2 separate regions of the Homo sapiens genome follow, and region 1 is linked to region 2. The links are contacts of gene promoters, found by promoter capture Hi-C in human tissues and cell types (Jung and others, 2019). All regions are on one chromosome and are shown on one strand. The core of a region is centred on a gene start or on the middle of the fragment in contact, and the rest is flanking DNA. Distances in the headings are between cores, read along the strand shown.

Region 1 (5,596 bases), core at 276-2,775, 190 kb after region 2:
ACCCATGGAATCCTCAGGGGGACAGCAGTGCTGGAGCGTGGCTGCTGTGGCATTTCCTGCTCAGGGCAGAGGCGGACGCTGCCCCAGGCCTGGGTGTGGGGAGCGCCCTGGGGAAGCGTGAGGGGGACAGTGGTTGGAAGGAAGGGCTGGGCCGCACCTGGGTCTGTGGAGGGGTCCTCCCGCATCAGAGGTGAGGTGACAGATATGGTGACCTGCATCCTGGGCTCCTCACAGGAGGAGATGACAATGTTGGCTTCAGGGTCGGAGGAGACCTCATACTCATCCTCGGTCACCATCTGGGAGGGGTAAATACAACACAAGGCCACCTTACTGCAGCCCAGATTCATGTGTAAATCAGCCAGGATGTGGTTGGTGTGTGTAAATTAATCCCGTCGGGCCTCCCACACTTGCTGCCTGGGTGCCGGGCCCTGTGCCCTGTGTCTGGAACCTCCAAGTGACCAAGACACAGCCGCAGCCCTCCAGGAGTGCACACATGTAGAGATATGTACAGACAACAGATCATGTGATGCAAGGAGCCTCCATATGTAAAGAATACCTGTAATTCAATAACAAGAAGACCAGCAATCCAATAAAAAAATTGGTGAGTGAAATAACAGATACCTGGCAGAAAAAGAAACACAAATGGCCCTTTTTACACAGTGACACACATTACCCCATAGTCAGGGAGGAGTAAACTAAAACCATAATGAGACGCCACCATCTCCTGTGAGCAGGACATAGCTCAAGAGGTCTGTGTCACAGTCTGGTCTTCCTGTCCATGGTCATCACCCTCCATGAGGCCTGTGCTCACACCTGAGCCTGGCCTCCCACCTGAAACGCACCTCTCTCCCCATCCTCCATCCCTTCCCTTCTCAGGGCCTCCCTGCTGCAAGGCAGCCCCCAGGGGGCTCCGTTGACATTACTGGGGTGGATGTTGTCAGCTTCCCCACAGCCTTATACATTCTCATGGGGCTCAGTTATTGTCTTTGCCACCAGGCTGCAAGTTTTCCAGAAAGCAGGGGCTGTATCTATCATGTTGTGGCCACTGTCATGTTGTAGGTGTGCAGGAAATGTGAGATGCAATTATTGAAGTCAGAGCATGTCACTCCCCTGCTCAAAACCCTCCAGCCTCCCCACTTCCCTAAGAATGCAATCCTACCTCCTGGTACGGCCTTCAGGCCTGGCTTGATCTAGGTGCCCCCTCATTCCCTCGTGCCCACCCCTCCTTGCTCTGGGCCTCCTGCTTTTTGGCCTCTGCAGGTGCTGGTCATTCTATGGGGAACACTGTCTCCCCGACCAGGCACTGCCCATCCACTGGGCATCCAGTGCCCACTGGAAAAGTCAAAGGAGTAAGGCTGAGTTTTCCCAGGGATGGTGACAGACGCTCAGGAAGAAGGAACGACTCTGGGGACTGATTTTTCATTTTTCTTTCTTTCTTTTTTTTTAAGACAGAGTCTTACTCTGTGGCCCAGGCTAGAGTGCAGTGGCACTATCTCTGCTCACTGCAACCTCTGCCTCCAGGGCTCAAATGGTTCCCCTCCCTCAGCCTCCTGAGTAGCTGGGATTACAGGCGCCCACCACCATGCCCGGCTAATTTTTGTATTTTTAGTACAGATGGGGTTTTACTATGATGGCCAAGCTGGTCTCGAACTCCGGACCTCAGGTGATCCACCTGCCTTGGCCTCCCAAAGTGTTGGGATTACAGGCATGAGCCACCACGCCAGGCCCGATTTTTCTTTTTAAACCTAAGATGATCAATGTAAATTCTTCAGTATGAGAAGAGTATATGAAAATTCTCTAGAGGAAAAAAATTCAGTTGACATTTCACAGCCCTAAAATTGAAATTGGGTTTTTGCTTTTCTTACGGCTTCCTAGTCGCCATTGCTGCGAATGTTTTCTGTGCAGCTTTCATCATCATTTACTCTTTTTGAATTTCTTTTGAGACTGAGTTTTGCTCTGTTGCCCGGGCTGGAGTGCAGTAGTGAATCACAGCTCACTGAAGCCTCGAACTCTTGGGCTCAAGGGATTCTCCCGCTTCAGCTCCCTGAGTAGCTGGGACCACAGGTACATGCCGCCATGCTCAGCTAATTTTTTTTTTTTTTTTTTTTAGACGGAGTCTCGCTCTGTCGCCCAGGCTGGAGTGCAGTGGCGCGATCTCGGCTCACTGCAACCTCTGCCTCCCGGGTTCATGCCATTCTCCTGCCTCAGCCTCCCGAGTAGCTGAGACTACAGGCGCCCGCCACCACGCCTGGCTAATTTTTTTTTTGTATTTTTAGTAGAGACGGGGTTTCACCGTGTTAGCCAGGATGGTCTCGATCTGCTGACCTCGTGATCTGCCCATCTCAGCCTCCCAAAGTGCTGGGATTACAGGTGTGAGCCACCCCGGCTGGCCCATGCTCAGCTAATTTTTAAGTTTTTTGCAGATACAGGTTCTCACTATGTTGCCCAGGCTGGTCTCAAACTCCTGGACTCGAGTGATCCTCCTGCCTCAGCCTCTCAAAGTGCTGGGATTTCAGGTGTGAGCCACCATGCCTGGCTAACAAACTGGTTGGTTTCTAACAGCGATGCTTCTTCTTGTATCTTTTTTTTTTTTTTTTTTTTGAGACCCAGTCTCGCTCTGTCGCCCAGGCTGGAGGGCAGCAGTGCAATCTCAGCTCAGTGCAACCTCTGCCTCCGGGATTTAAGTGATTCTCCCACTTCAGCCTCCCACATAGCTGGAATTACAGGCACATGTCACCAGGCCTGGCTAATTTCTGTATTTTTAGTAGAGACGGTGTTTCACCATGTTGGCCAGGCTGGTTTCAAACTCCTGACCTCAAGCGATCCACCTGCCTCAGCCTCCCTAAGTGCTGGGATTACGGACGTGAGCCACTGCGCCTGGCTTAATGCTTCTTGTACCTTAAAGTTGTGTAGTAACAAAGGTCCCCTGCCATCTAGGAGCGCAAGGGGCTGCGGGGAGAGGGCTGGCAGCCAGACGCCAGAAGCAGCGATGAGCAGGGCCCTGACCTTACCTGGAGCTGCCGGGGCAGCTGCTGGGCGATCCTCCGCAGCAGGCTGTGCGTGGGCTTCTCGGAGCAGAGCAGAGCGAGGCGCACGTTCCTGTCCCCACGCAGGAGGAGGCCTTTCGCCAGGATGCCTACTCGCATGACGCCTTTCAGGACCCGAGTCTGGGGGGCAACGCTGCTGTGGGGACAAAGCCACAGACGTGCGCCATCAGCGGAGAGACGCGGGGTACCCCAGCTGCCTCCCTCCTGAGCTACGGGGACCCTGCAAGTTACAGAGCCTCTCTGTGCCTCGGCATCCTCATCCATGAAATGGGACCAGGCCGCTCTGTCGGAGGCGCTTGCGGGATGAAATGAGACACCGTGAGATCGATCTCGGAGGTGCTGTCACCGGGCATGCCTCGGAGTAGCCGGGACGCGTGGCCAAACCCACATTTTCCTTCCTTGTGAGCAAACGCTAAGCCCCAGGCCCGCCCCGCGAGGTCTGGTGGCTCCCGCGTTCACGGACTCTGTCACCCTGTTGTTTCGGCTCCACATGGGTTCCAGAGAGGACAGAAAGCAAGGCTGCTTTCTGCTCTTGCTTCACGGGGGTTAAGAAAATTCACAAACCTAGGCCGGGCGCAGTGGCTCACGCCTGTAATCCCAGCACTTTGGGAGGCCGAGGTGGGCAGATCACTTGAGGTCAGGAGTTTGAGACCAGCCTGACCAACATGGCGAAAACCCATCTCTAATAAAAATATAAGAATTAGCCAGGCATGGTGGCGGGTGCCTGTAATCTCAGCTACTTGGGAGGCTGAGGCAGGAGAATCGCTTGAACCCAGGAGATGGAGGTTGCAGTGAGCCGAGATTGTGTCACTGAACTCCAGTTTGGGAGACAGAGCAAGACTCCATCTCAAAATAATGATAATAATAATAATAATAATAATAATAATAATAATAATAATTAGCTGGGTGTGGTGGTACATTCCTGTAGTTCCAGTACTTGGAAGGCTGAGGCAGGAGAATCACTTGAACCTGGGAGGCAGAGGTTGCTGTGAGCCGAGATCGCACCACTGCACTCCAGCCTGGGCAACAGAGCAAGACTCAGTCTCAAAAAAGAAAAAAAAAAAAAAAAAAGGAGAGGGCAGCTTCCTGGGCGCTCCTTGTATTGGGACACTTTGCAACCCACAGGTGCAAGGCTCACATTTCCTATATGGAGCTCTGTGCTCCAGCAAAAGGAAGCCCTCAGGCCAAGTGGATCAGCCAGACACAAAAGGCCACACGGTGTGCGACCCCATTTCTATGAACTGTCCAGCACAGGCCAATCCACAGAGACAGGGCGGGCACGCATGGGTGCACGAAACAAAAAGAGGAGTTTGCTTAATTGGGACAGAGCTTCTGTTTGGGAAGATGAGACAGCTGTGGAGATGGACAGGGGTGTAGTTTGCACGTGTGAACGTGCTTCATGCCCCTGAACTGTGCACTTAGACAGGTTAAAATGCTCAGTGTTGTGTGATGTGGATTTTACCACAATAGAGAAGCATTCAAAGAGGAAAGTGAACCCGTAATCCCGGCACTTTGGGAGGCCGAGGTGGGAGGATCGCTTGAGCCCGGGAGTTCAAGACCAGCCTGGCTAACATAGCGAGACCTCTCCCTGCTACAAAGAGTTAACAATTAGCTGGGTGTGGTGGTGGGCGCCTGCAGTCCCAGCTACTCGGGAGGCTGAGGCGGGAGGACAGCTTGAGCCCGGGGGTCTGAGGGTCAGTGAGCTCTGATCGCGCCATTGCCCTCCAGCCTGGGTAACAGAGTGAGATCTGTTTCTTAAAAAACAAAACAAACAAAAAAACAACAACAACAAACAGCAGCTGCCAGAGCAGGAAAGGACTTTGAAAAAAGGTAACTCCCGCTCAGATGAGTTATCTCCATGGCAATTACTTAGACGACGTGGGGACTTTCTCACTTCCTAAGAATCACAGGGGTTGGGAGCTGATTCACACGGGCACTCAGTGACATGAACTACTCTGATTACTCAGTCACTCCCCAAGGCGGAGAAGTCCGTCAGAATCACGCTCAGCTTTTCCTTTTGCCAATGAGGAAACTGAGGTTTACAGAGACTGTCAGTCCCTTGTGAACTATTTTTAGATGCGCCTTCAATAGCAAAAGGGAATGCTAAGGCATTAGAACAGCACGGATCACCCGCTGCAAACCAGCCTCGTTCAGTGCCGAGAAGCTCCAGCTCTGAGACCTGGGGAACTTCCTACTCCTGGGGCTGGAAAGCTGCCGCGGGCCACCGACGGCTCCAGGCCCATCAGAGCTAGGGGTTCCTGCAGGGTCTCGTCCCGAGGAGCTGACCTCTGTCCTGGCTGAGAGCCGGGCCCTGGGGAAGGGGATCTCCAATGACCTGCGCTTGTCACCCTCTTCCTCTCGGCGGCCCCGGTCCTCCTCGGCCAGTGTGTCGGACACCAGCTTGAGGGCCCGCTCTGCGTGGGACACGGCCCTCTGCACGGCCAGGAGCTCCTGCTCCGTGGGGTAGATGGTGGCGTGCTTGCACATGACGTGCCGGTCGTCGCTGGACGCCGGCCGCCGCCCGGGCTGTGGGGAGAGGCCGCACGTGT
Region 2 (5,148 bases), core at 2,073-4,572:
GCAGTGAGCCGAGATCACACCACTTCACTCCAGCCTGGGCGACAGAGCGAGACCCTGTGTCAAAAAAGAAAGCTGATAGCGGCAGAAGCTTGCTTATGCGTGTGTGTGTAAAACCAACTCTTGCACGATCAAGGGCAGGCTGGGAGTGTCTCAAGTGTTGGGGTCTCCAGAAACAGTGGAAATGCTACAGGGACAGAGGCCACCACCCGGCGGGGCCCACCTTATTCCAGATGAAGGTGCCCAGCAGGTTGTTGTCTCCGAAGGGGTTGTCGGTGTTGGTGTAGCCCATGTACTCCTCACCCCAGCCCATCTTCTCCCGCTTCTTGCGCTCCTTGGCCTCCTTCTTGGCCAGCCGCCGTGCGCGCTTCTCCTCGGGCGTCTCGAAGGCCTTCATCAGCTCCTCCTGCTGCTTCCGCTCCTCCCGCAGCCGCAGCCGCTCCTGCAGGCTCTGCTGCTGGCTCAGGGCAGCCGCGGCCGCCCGGGGGCTCTGGGATCGCCCTGGAGACGCGGAGCTGGATGCTGAGGAGCTAGGAGACCACGAGCGTGCGCGCCGTCGCCGGCGAGCCCACTGGCCCCGTGACTGCTCCTCTCCTGAGTCCGACTGAGAGGACCCATCTCTTGAGTGCCACTTGGGCCGCGGGGGGCTCCGGCTTCGCATCCCTGAGCGCTGCCACCGCTCTTCCTCTGAATCTGACCTGCGGAGAGGACCATGGATGCCTGCTCAGTGCCTGCAGCTGTCATCTGCTCCACAGATGCTTACTGGGTGCCCGTGGGGGAGCAGGCACTGTTCTAGGTTCTGGGGACACAGCAGTGACCCAAATACCGATGGCTTCTGCCTTCCTGGGCTCACCCTCTGGTGGGCCCCAACAAGGAAGACATCAACAAATAAACACACCACGCAACACTAGGCAGAGGCAGAAGCCACAAAGAGTAGCAATGCCGAGCACAGGGGCTGGGGCTGCAGGGCCGAGGTCAGAGAGGGGCTCTCTCAGGAGCTGACACTGAGCCAAGGTCTGGAGGGAGTGGGGAGGCAGCGATGGGTGGATTCGGAGGGAGAGTGCTCGAGGCAGAGCAAGAGCGAGGGCCTAGAGGCAGGCACTGACCTGCCACATTCTAAGAACAACAAGGAGGCTGTATGGCTGAGACAGAGTGTGGGGGAGAGGGAGGAGGCGCGGGCAGGGAGGTGGCTGGGGCTGGTGGCGCAGGAATTATAAGGGTACGAACCAGGGGACCCGAACACATTTAGGCTGTCAAGGGAGGGCTTCCTAGATGGAAGTGGTATTTGAACTAGTCCCACAGGATGGACAGGAGTTAACAGAGTAGAGCGCAGGGAATGGAAGATGCACAACCTCAGGGGTGGTTCAGGGGCCTTTAATTTTATTTATTAGAGACAAGGTCTACTAGACACAGAGTCTACTAGAGACAAGGTCTATATTTTTATTTATTAGAGACAGAGTCTCCCTCTGTCACACAGGCTGGAGTGCATGATCAGAGCTCACTGCAGCCTTGACCTCCTGGGCTCAAGCCATCCTCTCGCCTCAGCCTCCTGAGTAGCGGGGACTACAGGCACACACCACCACGCCCAGGTAACTCTTTACATTTTTTTGTACAGAGGGGTCTTGCTATGTTGCCCAGGCTGGTCTTGAACTCCTGGGCTCAGGCAAGCCTCCTGTCTCAGCCTCCCAAAGTGTTGGGATTACAGATGTGAGCCACTGCGCTCAGTCACGTTTAGGGGTCTTTGTACACAGAGAACTGCCAAATATTTTGTTAAATGCTCTACCCATTAAGCTCATGTCAAAAAAATCTAAACTATGTTGAAACCAATCATTGCAGAGCCCTTAAATATTGGCCACAAGTTCAACTGAATTTTCGTGAACATTAATTCTAATTACATATCTAGAGTGGCAAATTATTGTGAATAATTCCAATACCAGAAAATGGTAGGCGAAAAAACACAAAGATGACATTAACAAGACTTATGGGCAGGCGCGGTGGCTCACGCCTGTAATCCCAGCACTTTGGGAGGCCGAGGCGGGCAGATCACTTGAGGCCAGGAGTTCAAGACCTGCCTGGCCAATATGGAGAAATCCCAGCTCTACGAAAAAATTCAAAAATTAGCTGGGTGTGGCAACAAGCACCTGTAACCCCAGCTACCGGGGAGGCTGAGGCTGAAGAATCGCTTGAACCCAGGAGGCAGAGGTAACAGCCGAGATCGTGCCACTGCACCCCAGCCTGGGCGACAGAGCAAGACTCCGTCTCAAAAACAAACAAACAAAAAAACCAACAACCGATGAGTGAACTTGGCCCAGAGCGGGGCAAGACTGGCCTGAGTGTCAGCCACGAAGGGGCTGAGCCAGCACTGGGGCCCCGGTCTGGGAATCAGTCCCTGTCCCCATTTTGGTTTCTCTGTACTGGAGCCGGCTCAAGGCAAATCCGACCAAGTGCCCCATCTCCAGAAGAAAAGGACCATGGGGAAGCTGAGATTCAGGCACTAGGAATCAGCTGTGAGTCCTGCCAGCTGACACCGAGTCTTTTTCCCTCCCACAGCCCACCTCCATTAGCAAATGTTGTCTCCTCTACTTCCAGAATCCCTCTGAAATCTACGCACTTTGCCCGCTGTGGTTGACTACAGCCTCCCTCCCATCGAGACTGCCATCATCTACTGTCTGGACAATTGTGCCGTCCTACTCTGATGCCGCTCCTGCCTACCCCGCTCCATCCCTTCTCCACCTCAAAGCCAGAAAGTATGCAGAGTTAAGTCAGTCCACGTCACTCCCCTACCCAAACTCCTCTCAAGACTCTCCATTTCCCTCCGACTAATAGCCAAGATCTAATGTGCTGAGCACACAGGGCTCGATATGATATGATCTGATCTCTCGTTACCTCCCCGCCGCCTCGCTCACCCGGCTCCGGGCTGTCCCTCCAACCGCCCGGTCCCCTGCCTGGAACGCCTCTCGCCTTCCTTCCGCTGCCAGGTTAATTCCAACCGGTGGTCAATTGTCCCCTTCTCTAGGAAGCCCTCCCCGAGTAAGTCGGGGGTTTCCCGGTTCCCCGGGATCTCCAACCCTCGGTCGGGCGCTCCTGAGGTAGGAGCCGGATCCCCAGCGCTGCTCCCGCAGCGACCCCACCTGCGCTCCCGGCTCCGCCGCCTCCGTCTGCGCCGTCCCTCGTCCTCCCGGCGCCGTCGGTTTCGCCGCCCATGGCTCCTGCTCCGACTTCGGCTCCCGCTCTGACTCTGCCGCCTTCGGCCCCGGCGACCCGCGGACCGCGAGCGCGAGCGTGTGTCCCGACCCATCGGCTGGGCCAGTGGCCGCGGCACCAACACCAATAGCCGAAGCCTGCGCTGGGGGCCTTCCTCGCCCACGGCGCTCTCCAGGCTGCCCCGTTTGCGCCTGAGCCGGGAAAGAGCAACCCATCCCGTCGCCCCAGCCCGCAAGGACTCCGACACCCCAGACTTTCCACTACGTCTGCAAATGTGGACCGCGTGATTGACTCCAGTGGGATTGTTGCCTCCAGGGTGGCGGAGTCTCCTTTCAGGCAGTGCTGGAGGCAGCCCTAGGCGGGTCCCCACGCCTCAGGGGGCCTGAGAAACTGTGGGCGGGGCAAGGGCAAACTAGGAACCTTGTGCAGGGAGGGGCCTGCCGAGGCGAGACCAATAAGAAGCGGGTCTAGGTCGGAAGTAGCGCTTCATTGGCGTGGCCAGGGGCGTGGCCGAGGAGAGGCGTGTCCGGGGAGCGAGGTCCCCGAAAGGCGAGGAACCGGGAAGGTGTTAGGTGCCAGGCAGCTCCAGAGGGCAGAGGGCGGGCGCGGGGACAGAAACTGAAAAGCCTTCTTATGAGAGTCATCGTTATGCTCCACCACCTGCCAATGAACACCTATGTATTTTGGGAGTTAAGCTTTAAAAAAAAACAAAAACTTTGATAACTCCCTGTATTCCCCCATCAACCCATTTTAGAGACGGGGAAACTGAGGCTCAGAGAGGGAAAGTCACTCTTAACACTTGCCTTCTCAACCCAGGCTGCCCAGCTTTGTGGTGTGGGTGCTGGGGACCCGTGGGAGGGTTGTGAGCAGGGTTTGGGGGACTTGCTGTTGAAACAAGTTTGGCGTGGGAGGACGGACTTCAGGGGCAAGGCTGGAGGCCAGAGACCTAGAAGACGCTGATGTCCCATCCTGAGCTCCCCTAGCCCATGGTGGCTGCTACCACCACCCCGTGCAGTTCTAACCACTCGGGGCTGGGAAGGCCTGTTTATGGAGGATGATAGTAATTTAAGCTAACTTTTAAAATATTTATCTTGGCCGGGCACGGTGGCTCACGCCTGTAACCCCAGCACTTTGAGAGGCCGAGGCGGGCGGATCACCTGAGGTCGGGAGTTCAAGACCAGCCTGGCCAATATGGTGAAACCCTATCTCTACTAAATAATACAAAAATTAGCCGGGTGTGGTGGCATGCACCTGTGATCCCAGCTACTTGGGAGGTTGAGGCAGGGAGAATTGCTTGAACCTGGGAGGCGGAGGTCGCAGTGAGCCGAGATCGTGCCACTGCGCTATGGCCTCGGCGATAGAGCAAGACTCCGTCTCAAAAAAAAAAAGAAAATTAAAATGTTTATCTTGAGTGGGGTGCAGTGGCTCATGCCTGTAATCCCAACACTTTGGGAGGCCGTGGCAGGTGGATCTTGAGGTCAGGAGTTCGAGACCAGCCTGTCCAACATGGCGAAACCCCGTCTCTACTAAAAATACAAAAATTAGCTGGGCATGGTGGCATGCTTGTAATTCCAGCTACTCGGGAGGCTGAGGCAGAAGAATCGCTTGAACCCAGGAGGCAGAGGTTCCTGTGAGTTGAGATCGCATCATTGCACTCCAACCTGGGCGACAGAGCAAGTCCCCGTCTCAAATAAATAAATAAATAAATAAATAAATAAATAAAACGTTTATCTTGGAATACAACTTCATAACATCCCCGTAAACGCTGGCTTTGTATGCTTTGCTTGGTGTTAAGGCAAGGATGGAACCTTACAGAGGAAGAAGAGACCATCTCCTGCCGCTCTAGATGATGACCTTGCCGGTCCTGAGATGTGGGTTGTCATGCTGATGGGATGGCCCAAAACAAAGCGAAGGCCTGACCCTGTGCTTCCCAAAATTCAGATGCAT

The links. The method cuts DNA at HindIII sites, captures the fragments that hold promoters and counts their contacts. A contact is called where the count stands out against the background at its distance.
Region 1: a contact is called between a fragment that was not itself captured here and the fragment with the promoter of CACTIN in region 2, in 2 of the 25 tissues and cell types used here (mesendoderm cells and pancreas).

Annotation. Positions count from the first base shown.
Region 1 is chr19:3,813,663-3,819,258 of GRCh38, forward strand. ZFR2 (zinc finger RNA binding protein 2) reads right to left here. Exons shown (of 19, transcript NM_015174.2): 12 at 5,383-5,573; 13 at 3,012-3,183; 14 at 158-296. Among named protein-coding and RNA genes, the nearest start is that of MATK, 30 kb to the left of the region's middle. RefSeq lists silencers at 4,769-5,063, 5,100-5,300. The HindIII fragment of the contact is 9,278 bases long and covers 1-5,596 here.
Region 2 is chr19:3,623,468-3,628,615 of GRCh38, forward strand. CACTIN (cactin, spliceosome C complex subunit) reads right to left here and starts at 3,323. Exons shown (of 10, transcript NM_001080543.2): 1 at 3,129-3,323; 2 at 221-695. The coding sequence starts at 3,295. RefSeq lists enhancers at 484-985, 1,712-2,273, 2,274-2,835, 2,836-3,397, 3,287-3,656 and 1 more. The HindIII fragment of the contact is 17,013 bases long and covers 1-5,148 here.